2 separate regions of the Homo sapiens genome follow, and region 2 is linked to region 1. The links are contacts of gene promoters, found by promoter capture Hi-C in blood cells and fetal thymus (Javierre and others, 2016). All regions are on one chromosome and are shown on one strand. Each heading gives the region's core, a stretch centred on a gene start or on the middle of the fragment in contact. The rest is flanking DNA. Distances are from core to core; before and after follow the strand shown. Region 1 has its middle 7.4 kb from the start of N4BP3. Region 2 holds the start of PFN3 (profilin 3).

What was found. Contacts are between HindIII fragments. The CHiCAGO score rates a contact against its expected background, and 5 or more counts as called.
Region 2: the fragment with the promoter of PFN3 here is called in contact with a fragment that was not itself captured in region 1 in 1 of 17 cell types (total B cells); the score reaches 5.7 in total B cells.

The regions. Positions count from the first base shown.
Region 1 is chr5:178,103,990-178,108,315 of GRCh38, reverse strand. No RefSeq gene overlaps it. Among named protein-coding and RNA genes, the nearest start is that of N4BP3, 7.4 kb to the left of the region's middle. The HindIII fragment of the contact is 200 bases long and covers 2,088-2,287 here.
Region 2 is chr5:177,398,594-177,403,576 of GRCh38, reverse strand. PFN3 (profilin 3) reads left to right here and starts at 2,916. Exons shown (of 1, transcript NM_001029886.3): 1 at 2,916-3,468. The coding sequence starts at 3,001. The coding sequence ends at 3,414. It overlaps SLC34A1 (solute carrier family 34 member 1), which reads right to left. Exons shown (of 13, transcript NM_003052.5): 13 at 4,729-4,983. It overlaps F12 (coagulation factor XII), which reads left to right. Exons shown (of 14, transcript NM_000505.4): 11 at 1-96; 12 at 180-323; 13 at 879-1,027; 14 at 1,118-1,436. The coding sequence ends at 1,285. RefSeq lists an enhancer at 750-1,607. The HindIII fragment of the contact is 6,138 bases long and covers 1-4,171 here.

The DNA of each region.
Region 1 (4,326 bases), core at 938-3,437:
AGTGCGTTATCCTCTGTCACCCTCAAGAGACAGTGAGCCCTGAGTGTGGGGGACTGGTGGCCAGCACATGTCCAGACTCCCCCAGTTCTTCTTACAGTGCCTGACAGTTAGCCATGCTCAGCTCTAAGACACCATCTGCAAAAAGGCAATTCAGGACTGTTTTCTAACCAGGAGGAGGAGCTGAAGCAAGGCAGCCCTGGCTCTGAATCCCAGTCCTGTCCGTGACTTCCTGGTGACCTTCCTGAGCCTCGGATTCTTCATTGGTAAAGCAGGCAGCATCCCCTGGGCATGTCCAGGGACCTGACAGCTTTGTGTCCCCTGGCCGCCTTTCACTCCTTGCCCTCCCTTGTCCTCTCTCCCCTGGAGCTGGGCCAGGCCCCAGCCTGAGGGAGGAGAGCTGGGCATTCTTGGAGAGGCAGCATCTGAGGGTTTCAGACCTTGCAAAGCGCAGGCTAACAGATAACTCCTGGTGCCGGCCCTAGCTCTGCCAGTCCTCCAAGATTGGTCTTTTACAAATTTTTATTTATTTTTAACATTGTTTTTTAGGCTGGGTAGAGTGGCTCATGCCTATAATCCCAGCACTTGGGGAGGTTGAGGTGGGTACATCACTTAAGGTCAGAGGTTCAAGACCAGCCTGGCCAACATGGAGAAACCCCATCTCAACTAAAAATACAAAATTAGCCAGGGGTGGTGGTGCACACCTATAATCCCAGCTACTTGGGAGGCTGAGGCAGGAGAATGGCTTGAGCCCGGGAGGTGGAGGTTGCAGTGAGCCAAGATCACACCACTGCACTCCAGCCTGGGTGACAAGAGCAAAACTCCGTCTCAAAAAAAAAAAAAATTTTTTTTTTGTAAAATAGAGGCAAGGTCTATGTTGCCCAAGCTGGTCTCAAACTCCTGGGCTCAAGCAATCCTCCTGCCTCAGCCTTCCAAAGTGTTGAGATTACAGCTGTGAGTCGCCACATCCAGCCCAAGATTGTTCTAAAACTGTGTCACAGAGGGGTATTGTGGCTGTGGGGCAGAGCCAGTGGGGCTGTGCACCCACCCAGCCTCCCCAGCCCTCCCCACTCTCGCACCTGGGGTCAAAGTGGACTCCTGGACCTGGGCTGCCTCCCCGAGTCAGCAGAGCTGGAGAGGAGCCTTCGTTCACTCCTCCTGCTTCCTCTTCCCTGGGTCCCCCCACCCCCAGGGGTGACTGGGGCAGCCCCAGGCAGGAGGTTGGGGTGGAAGTTGAGAGCTGCCATGACTTGCTCAGGTGTCTGCCCCGGGGCAGACCTCAGACCTTCAGGAGCCCATGAGGACTCACACCCCGGAAGTCCAGGCAGTCCAACTGGCCCACTCATGCACCACTGGGACTACAGGTGTGAGATTACCTGCCCCGACCTCCCTAAGTGCTGGGGTTACAGGCCACCGGAAACCTGGACCAGCCCCACAGCTAAGTCCAGGTGGAGCTGCCACCCCAGATGGTAACACGGTACTTTGCCCAGAAACTCCTGGGCTGCAGTCCCTCAGTTGCAGTGATTTATGGCAAGGGGTTGGGGGTGGACGAAGTCTGGAGGAGTCATTGTGAAACTACAGCAGCACCATGAAGAGAGCTCCGGGGATGGGTGGCACGACGGTGCACATGTGCTTCACACCACTGAACTGGACACTTCAAGATGGTTAAGAGGCCGGGTGTGGTGGCTCATGCCTGAAATCTCCCAGCACTTTTGGAGGCTGAGGTGCGTGGATCACAGGAGGCCAGGAGTTCAAGACCAGCCTGGCCAACATGACAAAACCCCGTCTCTACTAAACATACAACAATTATCCAGGCATGGTGGTACACACCTGTATCCCAGCTACTCGGGAGGCTAAGGCACGAGAATCCCTTGAATCCGGGAGGCAGAGTTTGCAGGGAGCTGAGAGAGGACTGATGTACTTCAGCCTGGGCGACAGTGCAAGACTCTGTTTCAAAAAATAGTTAGGTTTTGTGTGCATTTTACCATGATTTGAAATGTTTTAGGCCAGGTGTAGTGGTGCACACCTGCAGTCCCAGCTACCCAGGAAGCTGAGCCAGGAGGATTGCTTGAGGCCAGGAGTTAGAAGCTTGTGACTGGGCCACTGCACTCCAGCCTGGGCAGCAGAGCAAGACTCCACCTCTTAAAAAAAAAAAGAGACAGAAAAAAAAAAAATCTGTGTAATACAGTGACTTGGATTGTCACAGTCCAGAGTTGTCCAAAAGGTGCTGGCCATGGGCCACTATTTTTTTTTTTTTAACCAAGACTTTACCTAGATTATTTTTAAAGCTTAATTACAACAATTTTCGAATATACACAAAGGTAAAGGGAGGGAATTTTTAAAAACTCCCACGTACCCACTGCCTGCCTTTAAAAGTTACCCAGCAGAGGCTGATTTTATTTACTTCCACACAAACCCTCCCACACTCCAGGGTTCTTTTTTTTTTTTTGAGACGGAGTCTTGCTCTGTTGCCCAGGCTGAAGTCCAGTGGTGCAATCTCAGCTCACTGCAACCTCCACCTCCTGGGCTCAAGCAACTCTCCTGTCTCAGCCTCCTGAGTAGCTGGGACTACAGGCACATGCCACCATGCCTGGCTAATTTTTGTATTTTTAGTAGAGATGGGGTTTCACCATATTGGTCAGGCTGGTCTCGAACTCCTGACCTCAGGTGACCCACATGTCTCAGCCTCCCAAAGTGCTGGGATTACAGGCATGAGACACCACGACTAGCCTATTTATTTATTTTAGAGACAGGGTCTTCCTCTGTTGCCCAGGTTGAAGTGCAGTGGTGTAGTCATAGCTCACTGCAGGCTCAAACTCCTGGGCTGAAGAGATCCTCCTGCCATGGCCTCCCAAAGTGCTGGGATTACAGGCATGGGCCATTGTGCCTGGCCTAAATTGTAATAATTTTACAGTTTGCCTCAAACGAGGACTGACGTCTAGGCAAGGTCTGCTGGGGGCCTCCCACATGCAGGCAGTCTCTCTGCTGTGCCCTCCACCAGCTCCGAGGGCCCCCTGCCCACAAGCACCGCTCTCTCCTTTCCCCTCTGGGGAAGGCCAGGAGAAGTGACTTTTGAGGTTACCTGAAGGACTTCTGTCTGTTTGGAAAAGGGTGTGAAGCTGAAGCCGATGGCCTCAGTGCCCAAAGGGGAACGCTTCCCACTGGCCTATGGAAGCCACAGGCCTGACAGTGGGGTCCTGGTCTTGGGGGTCTCAGCCACGTGGCCACCCATTCCTTCCTCACTTAGGCATCCACCTAGCGGTCTGCTCACACCCCCTTCCATCTATCTGTGTTCAGCCAATCAGGCAAGCCAGGGTTATAGCCCTCCCTGCCCTGGGCCCTGGCTCCATGAAGCACCATGGGCCTTGGAAGACCTCCCCAAATCATCCTGTCCCCCCAATATCTTCTGCCAAGGCAGAAGTTTCCCCGGGCCCCTGCTCTGGTCCGCTTCCTTGGCACAGTTTGTAGCTGTGCCTGATACAGCCCACCTACCTGGCTTCTGTCCCAAACCCGCAGCCAGGCCATGTGACAGCTGCTGCCTGTGCCCAAACATTCATCCAGCCCCACCCAGGAGAGCCAGGCAGGCACTCACACACTCTCACCCACACACCCTCACCCGCACACCCCCACCCACACCCTCCCCCACACACCCCCACCCACACACCCTCACCTGCCTGGCCCTGCCACACCCCCACCCCACCCTCCCTCTAAACCTACTGGGGCAGCAGCTTCCCCTACCTTCCGCCTGCTCCACCTCCTCCTAGAGCTGTCTTACACACAGTTTCCCATGCCCTTGGCAGGTTGGTCATGGCCCTGGCAGGTCTGAGGACAGGGTGGGCACAGGACTGTGTGCAGCATAGAAAAGTCAGGGAGTGCAGCCTCCTACTCTGTGCCAGCTGCCAGCCCCTGGAGCTTACCAGGTTGACGGGGACAAAGAATGCACCAGAGGGAACAGTGACCAGCCTGGGCAACAGAGCAAGACCCTGTCTCAAAAAGGAAAAAAAAAAATGGGGAGGAAGGCGATTGGGCAGAGGGCACCAGCAGAAGAGCTCTGGATCGAAGTGCCTGACAGAGGAGTCCCCCGTTAGAAAAGGTCCTGATACTAAGGGAGGAGACCACCCCTCATATTGTCTTATGCCCAATTTCTGCCTCCAAAGAAAGAAAAAGTAAAAACTAAAAGGCAGAAATGAAATCCACAAGCAGACAGCCCAGCACCACACCCTGGGCCTGGTAGTTAAAGATCGACCCCGACCTAATGGTTGATGTTATCTGTAGATTACAGACATCGTATAGAAAAGCACTGTGAAAATCCCTATCCTGCTTTGTTCC
Region 2 (4,983 bases), core at 1,667-4,166, 710 kb after region 1:
GCCGTAACCACAGCTGTGAGCCGTGCCAGACGTTGGCCGTGCGCTCCTACCGCTTGCACGAGGCCTTCTCGCCCGTCAGCTACCAGCACGACCTGGGTGCGTGGGGGCGCCCCGCGGGGACGGGAAGAGAGCTTGGGGCCCCGGCGTCCCCGCCTCACGCTCCTCTCCGCCCGGGTTAGCTCTGTTGCGCCTTCAGGAGGATGCGGACGGCAGCTGCGCGCTCCTGTCGCCTTACGTTCAGCCGGTGTGCCTGCCAAGCGGCGCCGCGCGACCCTCCGAGACCACGCTCTGCCAGGTGGCCGGCTGGGGCCACCAGTTCGAGGGTAGGCACAACTGCTAGGGGCAGGGGTAGGGGAGGAGACCTTTGATCACTGGGTTAGGCGGAAGAAGCCCGCGACTTTGGTATCGTTCCGGGTGCCTACAGAATGGGTGGCGCTGACCTGATGGGTTGTGAGAATGTGTAGGTGAATCCCAGGTAGAATCCCAGGGCCTGGGATTCACTGCTGGGATCCCCAAATCTCCTGGGGATACAGGGAGAATCGAACTTGCTCTTGGTTCCCTCTGGGCGCCGGGCTGCAAAGGCCAACTAGGACGCTGGCCCCGCGCTCCGGGCTAGTGTGGGAGCCAGGTTCTGCGACTCTGGATGGGTGGTGGGGGAGGGGTTTCTGTTTCCGCTCCGCCCATTCAAATCCTGGCTTTTCTCTGGACCTCAGCCTCCTTGCCTATGAAATTGAATTAATGGCACCTCCTCCCCTTCGGGCTTGCTGCGAGAGAGGAAGGGCATGAGTGGGTTTACAAGCGCCTGGAGCAGCTTTGTCCATCGTCCGGGCGGCAAGCGTTGTCAGATGGGGTGTGAAGAAGGCGCTCTGTGTTCGCAGGGGCGGAGGAATATGCCAGCTTCCTGCAGGAGGCGCAGGTACCGTTCCTCTCCCTGGAGCGCTGCTCAGCCCCGGACGTGCACGGATCCTCCATCCTCCCCGGCATGCTCTGCGCAGGGTTCCTCGAGGGCGGCACCGATGCGTGCCAGGTGAGCTCTTAGCCCGGTTGGCGCCCTTCCCCGAGGCCGTCAGGCACAAATCTCAGGTCCACAGCGCTGAGCTGCGTGTTTCCGACCCAGGGTGATTCCGGAGGCCCGCTGGTGTGTGAGGACCAAGCTGCAGAGCGCCGGCTCACCCTGCAAGGCATCATCAGCTGGGGATCGGGCTGTGGTGACCGCAACAAGCCAGGCGTCTACACCGATGTGGCCTACTACCTGGCCTGGATCCGGGAGCACACCGTTTCCTGATTGCTCAGGGACTCATCTTTCCCTCCTTGGTGATTCCGCAGTGAGAGAGTGGCTGGGGCATGGAAGGCAAGATTGTGTCCCATTCCCCCAGTGCGGCCAGCTCCGCGCCAGGATGGCGCAGGAACTCAATAAAGTGCTTTGAAAATGCTGAGAAGGAAAGCTCTTTTCTTCATGGGTCCCGCCGGGAAATGCCAAGACAGAAAAGCGATTCACAGCTTCTCCACAGCTCTCAGAGAACAAGGTCTATGAGATCTTAACGTGCAAAATCTAGATGCCAGCCCAGCTAATGTTTACTGAGCCTAGGATACTGTATACCAAGCCCTGTGCAAGGAGAAGCTGCATGTTATTCCTTATGAGAAACTAACATTTTGTTTACAGAGCAGTAGTTCTCAGACCATACATTAAGATCACTTGGGGAGCGTTTTGAGCCAATCTATGCCCAAGTTCCACCTCAGACCAATTAAATCAGTATGTCTAGGGATGGGGCATGGGTAGTGGTATATTTGTAAAACTCCCCAGATAATTCCATGTACAGCCAAGGTTGAGAATCGTGGTTAGAAATACTTAGCATTGGCCGGGCGCGGTGGCTCACGCCTGTAATCCTAGCACTTTAAGAGGCCAAGGCAGGTGGATTGCTCAGGAGTTCGAAACCAGCCTGGGCAACACGATGAAACCCCGTCTCTACTAAAATACAAGAAATTAGCCGGGCACGGCGGCGTGCGCCTGTAGTCCCAGCTACTCAGGAGGCTGAGGCAGGAGAATCACTTGAACCGGCAGGAAGGAAGGAAGGAAGGAACAGAGGGAGGGAAAGAGAGAGACAGAAAGAAAAGAAAAAAGAAAATAGAAAAAAAGAGCATTGACTGTGGCGTGGACCCTAAGGGCTGGGTGACATATCGTTGTCCCCACCCCAACACGCACTAGTGTAGTGGGTCTGAGAGTCCCTTGGCTAGCAGTACCATCACCAGGGAACTTGTTACACATAACAAATTCTCGGGCTACACTTTATACTGCTGAACAGAAAGTCTGGGGTGGGGCCCAGCAATCTGTTTAACAGCCTTGCGGGGGATTCTGATGTTCTCTCATGCTTAAGAACCACAATCTGGGGGTTGAATGGTTGGTTCCCTTACAAGTGAAGGTCTGGCTGTCCAGACACAACATCCTTTTTTCACAAAACCAGCTTTTTAAAATTAAAAATAGATTGGCCAGATGCGGTGGTTCACGCCTGTAATCTCGTCACTTTGAGAGGCTGAGGCGGGAGGATTGTTTGAGCTCAAGACTTCCTGACCCGCCTGGGCAACATAGTGAGACCTCATCTCAAAAAAATTTTTTTTAATTAAAATTTGTTTTTGCTTTTTTAGAGACGGGGCCTCGCTCTGTGGCTCAGGCTGGCGTGCAGCGACACGATCCTATAATAGTTTACTATAATCTCGCTACTGAGTTCAAGCGATCCGCCCGCCTCGGCCTCCCAAAGCGCTGGGATTACAGGAGTGAGCCGCTGCGCTCTGCCAAACCCATCCTACAGGATAACCTTAGAACTGCGACAGCACTAAACGCCCACGCCCCACGTGCCCCAGCCTGGGTGGTCGCTCCGGGACGGCGCCTTGTGTGACGTCACAGCCCCGCCCAGCCTGCCTCACAGCGCCGCAGGCCTTCCCCGCGTGGCGCCTCTATATTTCCCCGAGAGGTGCGAGGCGGCTGGGCGCACTCGGAGCGCGATGGGCGACTGGAAGGTCTACATCAGTGCAGTGCTGCGGGACCAGCGCATCGACGACGTGGCCATCGTGGGCCATGCGGACAACAGCTGCGTGTGGGCTTCGCGGCCCGGGGGCCTGCTGGCGGCCATCTCGCCGCAGGAGGTGGGCGTGCTCACGGGGCCGGACAGGCACACCTTCCTGCAGGCGGGCCTGAGCGTGGGGGGCCGCCGCTGCTGCGTCATCCGCGACCACCTGCTGGCCGAGGGTGACGGCGTGCTGGACGCACGCACCAAGGGGCTGGACGCGCGCGCCGTGTGCGTGGGCCGTGCGCCGCGCGCGCTCCTGGTGCTAATGGGCCGACGCGGCGTACATGGGGGCATCCTCAACAAGACGGTGCACGAACTCATACGCGGGCTGCGCATGCAGGGCGCCTAGCCGGCCAGCCAGGCCGCCCACTGGTAGCGCGGGCCAAATAAACTGTGACCTGGGCGCGGCTGGCTCCTCCTCCACTTGCGCGGTGGGGGGAGTTGTAAATAAGGAAACTGGTCTTTGCAAGACGGTTACCTGGTGGAGCCGGGATTTTGAGTCTAGAGGCTGCCAGGCCCCTGTGCCCTACACCCTGCTCTCCCATGGACGCCTTGCAGAGGCTCCTGGCCTGACTGCTGCTCCTTGGCGCGTTCCCAGGGTCCTAGGGACTCCGCAGCTGAGGAAGAGTCCAAGGGTGGGGGCTTCTCAAAGTCTGTTTCAGCCTTAGCGTCCTTTCTCAGAGATATTCCCACACATTAGGCAGGACAAGTAAAGGGAGCCCCCTCCCCATCCCGCGAACACCTCTCCCCATCAGGGTGTCAGGCTGGAGGCCAATTTGCTCCTCCCCCCTCCACTCATACCTCAAGCACTAGCAAGTTGTGAGTGGGTGACAGGATGGGCTTGGTGGCTTGTAAAGCAGTTCTGGGGCTCACAGGCCTCTGCATCTCTGCCCACATTCCTCCAAGGGGAGCCTACTGAGAGGGCTCATGTCCAAGACCATCGCAATTGGGTTTGAGACCTTACATCCTGCCTTCCCCAGGCCTTCGAAAAGGCCCCGCAGGAGTCCCTGGACTAGAGGGAGGAACTCTGGCATCCCTACCCGGGAGTCTCACTCTGCAGGCCTCAGTTTCAGGGTGACCTATGGAGGAGGGGGAATTGAAAAGCTTGGGTAAGTTTGAGGCCTGGTTTATTGCCCAAAGATAGTGGACAAAAGTGGGAGGGAGGGTGTCTGGTCCCTGCCCTCCATGTGCTGGGGCCCAGGGCATGGCCTCTCTTGCCCACCCCCACCCTTCCCGTCCCCTCCCCCAGCGGCCCTGATGGCAGACCCCACCTGTCACTTATTCTGGAGCCCTGATCTTATCCCAGCAGGAAGGAGTGATGTGTGGCTGAGGTGGGTGAATTTAGAGGGCAGAGGGAGACCAGAGGAAGTTCAGCCAGGTGGGGGTCAGGGGGTGGGGGTGCAGAATCCTCCTTACACTTGCCTTGGGGGTGGCCCCAGGCCTAGGAGGGGCTTCCAGGGAGTTTGAATTGTGGTTTGGACTCACTAAGGTAGGGCCAGGCAGATGGTTGGGGTGAGCCTGCAGGGCTGGCTTCTCTGGAACTGCACCTGGCCTGGGCAGGGCAGGCTGCTCTTGCAGCCAGTCTTTGAGGGGAGATGGTGCTGCTGAACCCCCTGGCTTGGTCTTCCCTTTGCCATTGATGGAGAGCAAAAAGACTTCCGAATGCCTGAGGAGAGTTTTAATTCCTTTGTTTTTTTTCCATCAGGCAAGTGTTGGGAAGGGAATTAATTGTGGTGGTGCCGAAGACCTGGGTTAGGATGAGGAGATGGTATCTTGGAGGAAGGAAGGTGGCAAGGAGGTGTGCAAATTCAGTAACGCAGGCACCAACATCTATGCACAAACAGCTGCACAGTCATATACCCAGACCCACCCTTACTCCTGCCTATCCTAGTCATGTGTACACGTGCAGAGGACCTGA